Regions from separate parts of the Homo sapiens genome. Here regions 1, 3 and 4 are each linked to region 2. The links are contacts of gene promoters, found by promoter capture Hi-C in human tissues and cell types (Jung and others, 2019). All regions are on one chromosome and are shown on one strand. The core of a region is centred on a gene start or on the middle of the fragment in contact, and the rest is flanking DNA. Distances in the headings are between cores, read along the strand shown.

Region 1 (2,872 bases), core at 220-2,719, 190 kb after region 2:
GACAGACATAGAAAGTATATGCAGTACCACAAAATAAACACCTAATTATTTTTAAGTGTTCAGAGTAATCTTGCAACAGAATGGCACATAAACGTAAGATTTATAAGCACTACAATTTTTTAAGTTCAAAACATTCCCATTCTGGAATTATCTTTTTCTAGAACGTTCTTACAAAAATACATTGACTCATATTTTAACTATTTATGCTAACAAAAAACAGTGAATTGCATACTTATAACAGGAATTCAAAGGTTATTTTCATTTTATTTTAGAATATATTCTTATACCTATACTTAAGTAGACCTCTGTCTGAGGTTCTGGAAATTTAAGAATAAATTTAAAGTTTGAACAACTGGAAAGTCTTAAGTACTTCCATTATTTGCAAAAGAAAAATATTAATAGGCCTCACGCAATGGATTATTAAAATGACACAGAAATGACTCATCCATCCATCTACTCATCCACCCACCCATCTCTAACCTACCCATGTAACAAAGATTCATTAGGTATCCACTATGCTCCAGCACACAGGCAGATCACATAGGGCTTGTGAGCAATCCTTGGGTTTACTCTGAGTTTGATGAAAAGCCAACAGAGAGTTCCAACAGGGCAGTGACATGACATGACTTATTTTGTTAAAGGACTATTCTGTTTCTCTGGGCAGAACATATATGGTGGGGGTGGATAGCGGTGTGCTGGTAAATATTTTAACACCCGGCTCCAGGGCTAGGAAGGGGAGAGGATTCCGGTTTGTAGTGTTTGCTGATTTTTGTGGTGTAAAACTGTCATGGTAATTTCAAGCTACCAGCATTTCACTGAACATGAACCTGAGAAGTCGTACACGTGATTAGCTCTAACAAACCAATACAAGTTGGCTCCAACACAACACTGAGCGGCACGGAGGAAGGAGCAGAGGGTAGAAGCAAGGAGACCAGTTACAAGGTTACTGTTAAGAGTGCAGACAAGAGCAGATGGTAGCTTGGATTAGGCCAACAATAGAGATATGAAAATGGTCAGATTCACTAGGCATTTCGAGAGTAACGCCAACAGAATTTACTGATGAACTAGAAGTGGAATTTGAGAGAAGGAATGATTCCACGCCTTTGAAACTGGATAAATGGTGATGGCGTTTGCAAAGGTGGTAAAAAAGAGGAACGGATTTGGGGTGGGAATTCAGAATTTCGTTTTGGGCATATTCAGTAGATATCCAAGTGGATATATCCAGTAAGCAAGGCAATACATAAGTTTGGAGTTCAGGAGAATGCCTGGGGCAAGATAGCTACAATTGGGATAATACTAAACCTTGAGACTAGATGAGATTACCTAGAAAATAAGAGTAGATTTAAAAAAAAAAAAAAAAAACAACTAGTGGAAGGAAGAATGACTGATGGACCTCTCCAACATTCAGAAGCTGGGAAAGGAGCCTGGGAAGGAGCAAAGAAATAGGAGAGAATTCAGGAGAGCATGGGGTATTGGAAGCAAAATGAAGCAAGTGTTTCAGATAGAAATAGGAGTAACTGTGTTAAATGCTGCTAAGAGGCTACGTAAAATGAAGACTGACCACAGGACTTAACAACAAGGAAACCAATATGATGAACCTCAATATGATGGTTTTAGTGTAAAATTACAGATGGAAATCTGATTAGCTTGAGCTCAAGAAAGAAAGAGAAGAGAGGAGGTAGTGCCAGGGAGTATATATAGACAACTGTCTGGATAAGTTTTGCTTAAAGGCTGATGCAGGTCGGGTGAAGGTGAGTTTTTGTTTTGTTTTTTTAAACAAGACACAATAGTATATTTTCATGCTGTACAAAGAAAAAAGTATGCAGGAAAGAAGAAGCTGTGTATCCAGGAAAGGATGAGAGCTCGTTCACAAGAGGAGAGGTTGGCCCCTAGAAAAGAACAGTTTAGAATGGGAGGGAAAGTAGTTACTAAGGAGATGCAAGTCAGATGCTCTATCAAAGGGAAGATGTGGGCATTCTCTTCTGATGGCTTCTACTCCGTCAGTAAAATTACAAAGATCATCAGATGATTGTTATTTTCATCACTATTATTCCTCTTCCCTAGTTAGGAAAACCAAAGCCCAAAGGGCTTACAGCCAGGATTTAAACCTGTTCTTCCCCTCTCTAAGCTTCATTTCTTATTTCCAAAATGAGTATAATAATTCAACTTCTTAAGGATTTGGGGAAATCAAATGAGATAACAGATGTATAATATGTAGCATAATGCCTGGCACCAACAAACAGAAGCCCCCCCACTTCCCTTCACCCACAGCAAAGCTGAAACTAAAATCAGCATTTCTAAACACTCAGTTAATATTCAATGTACACTGCACAAATGCAAAAAGGTAGCATCATGATATGAATATAGGCAATCAAAATAATTATTTAAAAGGTATGTTGTTTACTCCATCTAAAAGCACATATTGTGCAAAGTATTTTATTTAATAAGTCATCATATGGAACAAAAGGATAATTTCTACTCAGCTTCCAAAAAAGTTTAAGAGCAAAATCTGGTGCTTAATTGGCATGCCTTCAGTTAGTCTAAAATTTTGGTAATAATTTCCTTTTCTCAAAGAGCCACCATTTGTTACTAGGCTCTTGTCTCTTACTTTGTATTAATGTTTCTCAATTTTATGGCCTCTGCACATTTTACTAGAGCAAACTTAAATTATTTTTGGAAGCAAACCAAAAAGGTTTTTAAAAAGAGTAATTATTAATATTTTGGCCAGGCGTGATGGCTCACGCCTATAATCCAAGCACTTTGGAAGCCTGAAGTGGGTGGAACACTTGAGGCCAGGAGTTCAAGACCAGCCTGGCCAACATGGCAAAACCCCGTATCTACTAAAAATACAAAAATTAGCCTGGCATGGTGG
Region 2 (2,700 bases), core at 72-2,571:
AGAACAGTGATTTCAACACGGGGAGTGGGGACCAGGGAAGGTGCCACAAAGAAAGTTAAGCTTCGTCTTGCAAGAATAGCAGCACTCCCTATACCTTTTTCCATATCCTGGGGTCCAGTGCAGCCAGGGATGCCAACAACAGGACCACCTGGACATGTCAAAGGGTGCTGCACCTCCTGATGCTGGGCTCTGAGAACCTCCTGGAGGGAGGGGTTTGGAGCTGGGTCTGGAAGGAGGAGTCCGGACCGGCTCCCTGGAGAAGGGAGTGTGTCCAGGTTGGGATCACGGCCAGCAGCAAAGGCAATTAAGTGAAGCCAGCAGGGGTTGGGGTCAGAGGCTGACAATAAAGGCCAGGGGAGGGAAAGCCGGTTAAGCTCGAGCAGAGCAAAAGGCAAAACGAAATAAAGGCATTGCGAAAGGTTGGGAGAGAAAGGGAAAAGGCTGGCGGGTGGAGTGTTGGAATCTAACACAACTGGAGTGTCCCTGGACTCTAGCAGTAATAGACCCTCAGAAATGTGAGCACAGAGGAACGCCCCATCTTCAATCTCAGCCTTGCCACCACTCTAGAAAGCAGAGACCCTGTGTTCTCCCCAAAGGACTTCTCGCTGTCATCGCCCTTCTCCCTCAACCCCAAGTCAGGGTCCTTCCAGGCCCTGCAAGGGGATCTGGAGGAGCAGGAACCACCTGGGTTGGGGTGGGGCCTGGCCCGGGCCTGGCGTGGCTTGCAGGGTCTGGCAGCTGTGTCCCACATCTGGGGTTTCAGGAATTCTGACCTGAACACGCACTCCCACACTCACCTTCATCACCAGGTGAACAGGCACAGAGGGGAAAGGAGGGACACACCCACCCACGCCCTCCTCCACAAATTAAAGAATCCGCAGGGCCGTCGGAGGGGAGGCTGGATGTCCTGGGCGGGTAAGAGAGGTGGCTGGAGACGCGCTTTCCCTTCGGTCCTCCTGGGGAACACTTCCCTCGGCTTCCTTCACTCCAATAATGTGAATGAACTCTGGGAGAGAGAGAGAGCGCGCGCGGGCGCGGGGAGGGGAGGGGAAGGGAGGGGAGGGGAGGCGAGGGGAAGGGAGGCGAGGGGGAGAAAATCCTGGCTGGGGAGAGAGGGGAGCTCAGAGGAGCGCACAGCCGGGCGGGGGCCGAGGCTCGAGGGGCGGCGCCGAGAGAAACGGGGCGCGGACCCGGAGCGCGGCGGCGGCGGGGGAGGCGCGGAGGGCGCAGGGCGGAGGCGCGGGCCGAGGGGGGAGGGCGAGCGGAGAGGGAGGAGCCCCCGGCCGCCGCCGCCAGCCCGCCCGGCGGCCGCGCAGCCCGCACTCGTCGCCGCGCCTCGGAGTTTGAGCCCCAGCGCTGCCGGAGCGCAGGCACGCCCGGGGCGCGGGGTCGGAGCGCGCAGCGCGGCGCCGCCCCCCGGCCCTCGGCCCCCCAACCCCGGCGCCCCCGGAGCGGCGCGCGGAGGGAGGAGGGCGGGCGGGCGCGGCGGGCCGGGCCGGCGGGCGGCGGACTATGAGGCGCCCACCATGGTGCGATGCGACCGCGGGCTGCAGATGCTGCTGACCACGGCCGGAGCCTTCGCCGCCTTCTCGCTCATGGCCATCGCCATCGGCACCGACTACTGGCTGTACTCCAGCGCGCACATCTGCAACGGCACCAACCTGACCATGGACGACGGGCCCCCGCCCCGCCGCGCCCGCGGCGACCTCACCCACTCTGGTCTGTGGCGGGTGTGCTGCATCGAAGGTACGGCCAGCCCCGACCCCTCGCCGCCCCACACACACACACACACACACACACATATACACACGCGCGCGCGCGCGCGCGCACACACACACACGCGCACACACTGCCCGGCGCGCGGGCCGGGGAGAGGGTGGGCGCGGCGCTGGCTCCGCGCGAGACACAAAGGAGCCGGAGCTGGCGGGCGGGTCCCTTCGCGGCCAGCTGTACATCAGCTCTGGTCCCTCTCGGCTGGGGACCTCCCCAGCACACCGATCCCACAAACTCTCCACGCGCACACCCCCTCGCCCACAGACACAATGAAACACACCGAAACTCAAGCACGCGCGCGTAGCCCGGGACCCGAGCGATCCCCAGGGGCCGCGCCGGCACCCCCGGGGGAGGTGGAGGCTGGCGAGGGGGCGGGAGGAGGCTGGGGTTGGGGGGAGCGGACGGGAGGGGGGGAGGGGTTGCTTGGCAACCGGTGTCTGTGCTATTGCTATGGGAACTGGCCATCCTGGGGCGGGGCCGGCCGGGGGCGGGGCGCGTCGGTGCCGCTGGGCGCTTTCTACAGGCTCGGGCTGAGGGGTGGGGGCAGAAGTAGGGGCAGAAGTAGGGGCGGGGGCGCGGTCGGAGCCGGGGTAGGGGCTGAGTTCCTAGCGGATCTAGGGTAGCTGGGTAGGCCCAGCCCGACGCCCGCCTCGTCTCCCACGGAGTCACCGGCCCGCTCCTCGCTGTGCGGTGGGGTGGTAAGGGGAGCGACACCGAGTCTCCCCCAACGGAGACAGCGACCTCGGTCGCGGCCCCTCAGCAGGGAGGCTGCGGAGACCTCAGTAGGAAACTAGGGTGTGCAGGACCGATCTGCGGACCGGGAACAGACTGGGAGGGGCGTGGTCATCTCGTCGGAGCTGGGCGCTGCGACCCCCAAATGCGACTGGAGGCTGAGTAGTAGGTGTCATGAGGCTGGAATGCTAGGGG
Region 3 (2,700 bases), core at 120-2,619, 190 kb before region 2:
CCTCTTAGGCCAAATACGTCCGGGTGTAAACACAGAAAGGCAGTTCGTACACAGTCACCATCAGTGAGTCAATGGCTGGAGAAACAGGAGTTGTCTGCTCCTCAAGTTAATTTCCCCCTCTTTAAAATTTTTACAGTAAAATTCGGCTCTGAATTACAGGCCCCCTAAGAGTCCTGCTTTTCATGAAGTCACAAAAAGCCAAGTCCCCCTCTTGATCCCACTTGAATGTTCAGCTCTTGAGTCTGGAAAACAAACCCTGCTTTCATTAAGAGTCACATTTGCATATGCTAACATGCAAAAGGGGCTGGGCGGAAACGAAGCCAGGATCTGTTTCCGAGGGCGCTTTACAAGAGGTCACGTGAGTAGACTCTTGGCCAGCAGGAGACAAGAATTTCAGAACCCAGGTCTGCAGGAAAGTCCTCCTCCCTCCCGCAGCCTGGCTTCTCCCCTCTCCAAGCCTTCCTGGGATCTCATTCACTAGGGGAGAACTCAGGGAATGCTTTCTTCTGGCAGAGAAGTCCCCTTTGGGGGGTGCATTTTGAAGCTCTGCCACACTGGCCTCAGACCTCATTTGCAAATTGGCCTGAGGTGATTTACAGGCCTTATTTAAAGGTTTCCCTACTAAGCTCACGCCCCCTGGAGAGCACCAGGCTCCAGCTCTCAATAGTTCTGCAAACTTTCTGGCCTGTTTCCAATATTTCCCACACTGCTTCTCAGAGCCACTTAGCCTGCCTTATATGCATACTTTCAGGTCTCCATCATCTCTATTAAAAACGGTGATGGCTGGGCCCGGTGGCTCACACCTGTAATCCCAGCACTTCGGGAGGCCGAGGCGGGCGGATCACGAGGTCAGGAGATTGAGACCATCCTGGCTAACACAGTGAAACCCCATCTCTACTAAAAATGCAAAAAAAAATTAGCCGAGTGTGGTGGCGGGCGCCTGTAGTCCCAGCTACTCGGGAGGCTGAGGCAGGAGAATGGCGTGAACCCGGGAGGCGGAGCTTGCAGTGAGCCGAGATCGCGCCACTGCACTGCAGCCTGGGCGACAGAGCGAGACTCCATCTCAAAAAAATAAAAGAAAAAAAGAAAACGGTGATATTCTTTAAAGATGACACCTTAGACCAGGTGCAGTGGCTCATCCCTTTGGGGCCCTTGGGAGGCCAAGGTGGGTGGATCACTTGAGTCCAGGAGTTCGAGACCAGGGCAACATGACAAAATCCCGTCTACAAAAGATGCAAAAATGAGCTGGGCGTGGTGGCAAGTGCCTGTCATCCCAGCTACGTAGGAGGCTGAGGTGGGAGGATTGATCGAGCCCGGGGGGTCAAGGCTAGCAGTGAGCTGTGATCATCACACCACTGCACTCCAGCCTGGGTGAGAGAGTGAGACCCTGTCTCCAAAAAAAAAAAAAAAAACAACAACTCCTTAAAGGCACTCCACATTCTGGTGCAATGGCAGGCACAGATAACAGCCTTTGTTCCTCTAAATCTCCACCTCACCCGCCTCAAACACAGTGTTTTCATTCAAATCCCCTTCTTCATCTTTCTCTCTGACTCCTCAATGCAAATTTAAATGTATTCCTAGGCTGTCACTCAGCTCAGAAAGGATAATGAAGGCTCTACCCAGTATTATCCACAGCCCCTCCAAGCTTCAGCAATCCCAGAGACCCAGCAAACGGAATAGATGTTGTTATTGAAAAGTAAGATTAATGATAAAGTCGTTGACAGGGTTTTGGTCTAAGTTTGTCCTCTTTAATCGCAGAGGGCTGAAGATGAGCAGGAAAAAAATAGTTTATTGCCATTTTCTTCTCATTTGCTTTATTTATTGTCAGCAGCCAAGGGGGCAGTTAAGAATAAACAGCCTCAGTCTTTATTCAGTTCCTGGACTGCTTGACAAATACAATCACTTTTGGGGCATAAATAGTGTTTACCCAGCACTCTAATGAGCACCTTGTGCCTGCAAGTGTTCTCGGTGATCGTCATAAAGGGACCAGCCCTCTCCTTATGCCCTTTTCTCCCTGGGTTATTTATGCTTTGATTTCACTCCTACTGAATCAGTAATCGCCACTTCATCTTAACTTCGGCCTGAATTGTCCAGGGGAGCATGCCTAGCCCCCAGCCCAGGTTTCCGTGATTTGCAAATAAGCGTGGCCTCCATGACCACTTCCTAGCTGAGATCACACCAGTGCAGTGAGGTGGCTCACAGCTGTGATTAGGAATCCTTTTTTGCAAAATGTGAACCATCACTCCTCATGTGTTGGTTTCCACAAATCACATATTGTTAAAGTGGGAAGGAGCGGGTGAGAGGGGATAGAACCCATTCAGAAAATGTTTACACCAACCCAAGACTTTTCAACAGGTAGCTTAGCCTGGAACATTGAGTCCAAATTTGTAGAAATTAAAAACCATGGGAATGGGGGAAAGAGGCGAGAGAAGGCATCCAAAATGGTAATGTACTAAAGCACCTGAGTGACACGTTACCCCCATGGTCCCCAGGCTAAGTGGCTGGCAGTACCAGAAAGGAAAAGGAATAGAATTAGTAACTTTTCACCGTTCCCTTGCCTTCAACGCCAGGGCCTGAGAGCGAGTGATTACCTGTCAGATGCTCCAGGGAGACTTGAGCCTAGAGAGACTTAACAAAGGCCGTAAATGTGTTCACATTTTTTTAGGCTGCAGGATGCCACACCTGGGACGTTATTATGGG
Region 4 (2,720 bases), core at 205-2,704, 220 kb before region 2:
GACTCCCAAACTGTAAACGCAGCCCTCTCATGGGTTATAGGGTCACTGGCGAATCATGAAGTCAGTGCATGGTCACAGCCACTAAATGGACTAAACTGGACAAAACAGACTAAAATAGAGGAAATAGGAGAGCCCATTGCACATAGTAAGGTTGTGTCTTGCTTCCTGGAACTGTTGTTTGCTCCATGTGAGCCAGTTGCTTGGGAAAATGTATTTGTTACATGGTCATGGTCAAAATCATTTAAGAAACACTGTTGGCTGGGCGCGGTGGCTCACGCCTGTAATCCCAGCACTTTGGGAGCCCGAGGTGGGTGGATCATAAGGTCAGGAGTTCAAGACCAGCCTGGCCAACGTGGTGAAACCCCATCTCTACTAAAAATACAAAAAGCCAGGGATGGTGGTGCACACCTGTAATACCTAGCTACTCAGGAGGCTGAGGCAGGAGAATCTCTTGAACCCAGGAGGCAGAGGTTGCAGTGAGCTGAGATCATGCCATTGCACTCCAGCCTGGGTGACAGCAAGACTCTGTCCCCCCAAAAAAAGAAATACTGTTGAGTGGAGGGAATTACTTGTGAAAATACTCTGCCTGGAAGGCGGGGTGAGACGGGGGTTGCAGTGATGGTGTATTAGCAGCATCGCGGTGATGACTGTTCTAAACTGCATGTTGTCTGGTCTAGGAAGAATGTGTCAGTGTGGTTCTAAGCAAAATGGTTCCAGGACTTGTATCTTGACAGCAGCGGCTGTGCTGCTCTGCTTTTGTTATAACACTTACAGAGGATTTTTTTTCCTGTTTTATGAAACATCCCACATGCCAATGATAGAATGGGTTGTCACTGTAGTCACTGTAGAGCCAACTTTCCATCCACACACAGTCCTATGGATGCCACAGTTTTTTCCCATCTGTACCCAGCATGGTGGAGACCAATGGATCCAAAGCTGAGCTGGCTTCAGCTCTTCACAGAGCCCTCAGATGAGCTGTTGGCAGCCGGTCTCACATTTATTCAACAGATTACCCCATGCATTTATCTCAGAGACAGTAGGGATAGTGAAAAAGGCACCCACAAGCTCAGAAGTCAGACCCATGTGAGCTTCAATCTGGAATCTGTTATTTACAGACTGTGGGAACTCGGGTGAGTTACTTAACGTCTCTGAACCCCGTTTCTTCAGCGGCACCTTAGGGATAATATCCTCCTTGTAGAATTGCTGTGTGGACTGAAGTGCCTAATACAACATTTTGCATCTAGTAGACCCTCCATAGTCATTATTCCAAAAGGGAAGCTGCTTTTTATTCCTTTGTGAAGACCTTGTAGTTTTATGATATTTCAAGACAGCGTGGACACATAGACTTCATTTAGAAACTTAAATTCTGAATCGCATGGCCAGAGGTGATATGTGATCTTGCTGCATAACTTACTGGGATTTTCCCCCAAAAGAACTCCCTCATTAGTACCTACAGACATGAGGTGAAATTAAATAGTCTTATTTTTCAAATATGAGGAATAGTCAGGGTACTGTCAGAAATACAATCTCTTGATGTAGTATTTATTCTGAAGCCTGTTACTAAATGACAGGTATTAAGCAGGCTGTGATTATGAGCCATTCAGCCTTCATTGAACAATTCAGCAGATGATGTAAAAGCTTAGTGATGGGGAATGGCAGCTTTTTTAGGAATAAAGGTGGCATTGAACCTCATCTCTATTAAGACCAGGTCTCTCCTGTTCCGACAAATAGCTCCTTGTGTTCAGTAACACCTCAGCTATCTAATAACACCAGGAACAACAGTGTCCAGTAGAGACAAAATTTTCCATATCATTAAGGTTTGTCCATTTGAGTGTCTTGTCTTTTTTTGTTGTTGCGGTTCGGTATCATTCACGGTATGAGTTCCTGTTGCCACTGTAACAGATAACCACAAACTCAGCAGTTTAAAATAACTCAGATTTATTATCATGTGGTTCCGGAGATCAGAAGTCCAAAATCAGCCTCACTGGACTAAAGTCAAGCTGTGGGCAGGGCTGGTTTCTTCTGGAAGCTTTAGGGGAGAACCTGTTGCCATCCATGCCTTTTCCAACATCAAGAGGCCACCACCTGCATTCCTTGGTTCGTGGTGTCTTCTTCCCTCCCCCATGCAACGTAGCATCTTCCAATCTCTCTGTCTTTTCCAACTACAACCCTCCAGCCTCCCTCTTCTCCTACAAGGATCTTTGGGATTATATGGGGCCCACTTGGATAATCCAGGATCATCTCCCTAGCTCAAGATCCTTAATTTGCCTCTGCAAAATCCTTTTTAATGCATAAAGGTAATAGATTCACAGGTTCCAGGGATAAGGATGTGGACATCTGTTGGGGAGAGGGGACTTAGTCTATCACACTTGTTATATGTTGGAGAACCTCCTCACTGTCCTCAACAGGGACACCTAAACACACTTCTGTCATGTCTTGGTAACTTCGGGCCTCTTCATACACAGAGAATACTCTGTTCTTGCTCTAGATACTTTCACATCTGAAGCCTTCATTCCCCTCCTTACATCTACTGTACAAGCAATAATAGAGGAAGTGACCACCTTCTATTGTCTACCGTGTGCCAGGCACATGATAAACTTTCTCTTGGCTGGGCACAGTGGCTCACTCCTACAATCCCAGTGCTTTGGGAGGCCAAGGCAGGTGGATCAATTGAGGTGGAAGTTCAAGACCAGCCTGGCCAACATAGTGAAACCCCATCT

The links. Contacts are between HindIII fragments. The study calls those that stand out against the background at their distance.
Region 1: a fragment that was not itself captured here is called in contact with the fragment with the promoter of CACNG4 in region 2 in 2 of the 25 tissues and cell types used here (H1 embryonic stem cells and bladder).
Region 3: a fragment that was not itself captured here is called in contact with the fragment with the promoter of CACNG4 in region 2 in 2 of the 25 tissues and cell types used here (H1 embryonic stem cells and IMR-90 fibroblasts).
Region 4: a contact is called between a fragment that was not itself captured here and the fragment with the promoter of CACNG4 in region 2, in 2 of the 25 tissues and cell types used here (H1 embryonic stem cells and mesendoderm cells).

The regions. Positions count from the first base shown.
Region 1 is chr17:67,151,424-67,154,295 of GRCh38, forward strand. All of the region lies in intron 17 of HELZ (helicase with zinc finger), which reads right to left. Among named protein-coding and RNA genes, the nearest start is that of HELZ-AS1, 92 kb to the right of the region's middle. The HindIII fragment of the contact is 4,410 bases long and covers 1-2,872 here.
Region 2 is chr17:66,963,386-66,966,085 of GRCh38, forward strand. CACNG4 (calcium voltage-gated channel auxiliary subunit gamma 4) reads left to right here and starts at 1,322. Exons shown (of 4, transcript NM_014405.4): 1 at 1,322-1,746. The coding sequence starts at 1,527. The HindIII fragment of the contact is 19,073 bases long and covers 1-2,700 here.
Region 3 is chr17:66,777,451-66,780,150 of GRCh38, forward strand. The region is part of intron 14 of PRKCA (protein kinase C alpha); the gene reads left to right. Among named protein-coding and RNA genes, the nearest start is that of MIR634, 8.3 kb to the right of the region's middle. The HindIII fragment of the contact is 5,157 bases long and covers 1-2,700 here.
Region 4 is chr17:66,742,793-66,745,512 of GRCh38, forward strand. The region is part of intron 13 of PRKCA (protein kinase C alpha); the gene reads left to right. Among named protein-coding and RNA genes, the nearest start is that of MIR634, 43 kb to the right of the region's middle. The HindIII fragment of the contact is 3,364 bases long and covers 1-2,720 here.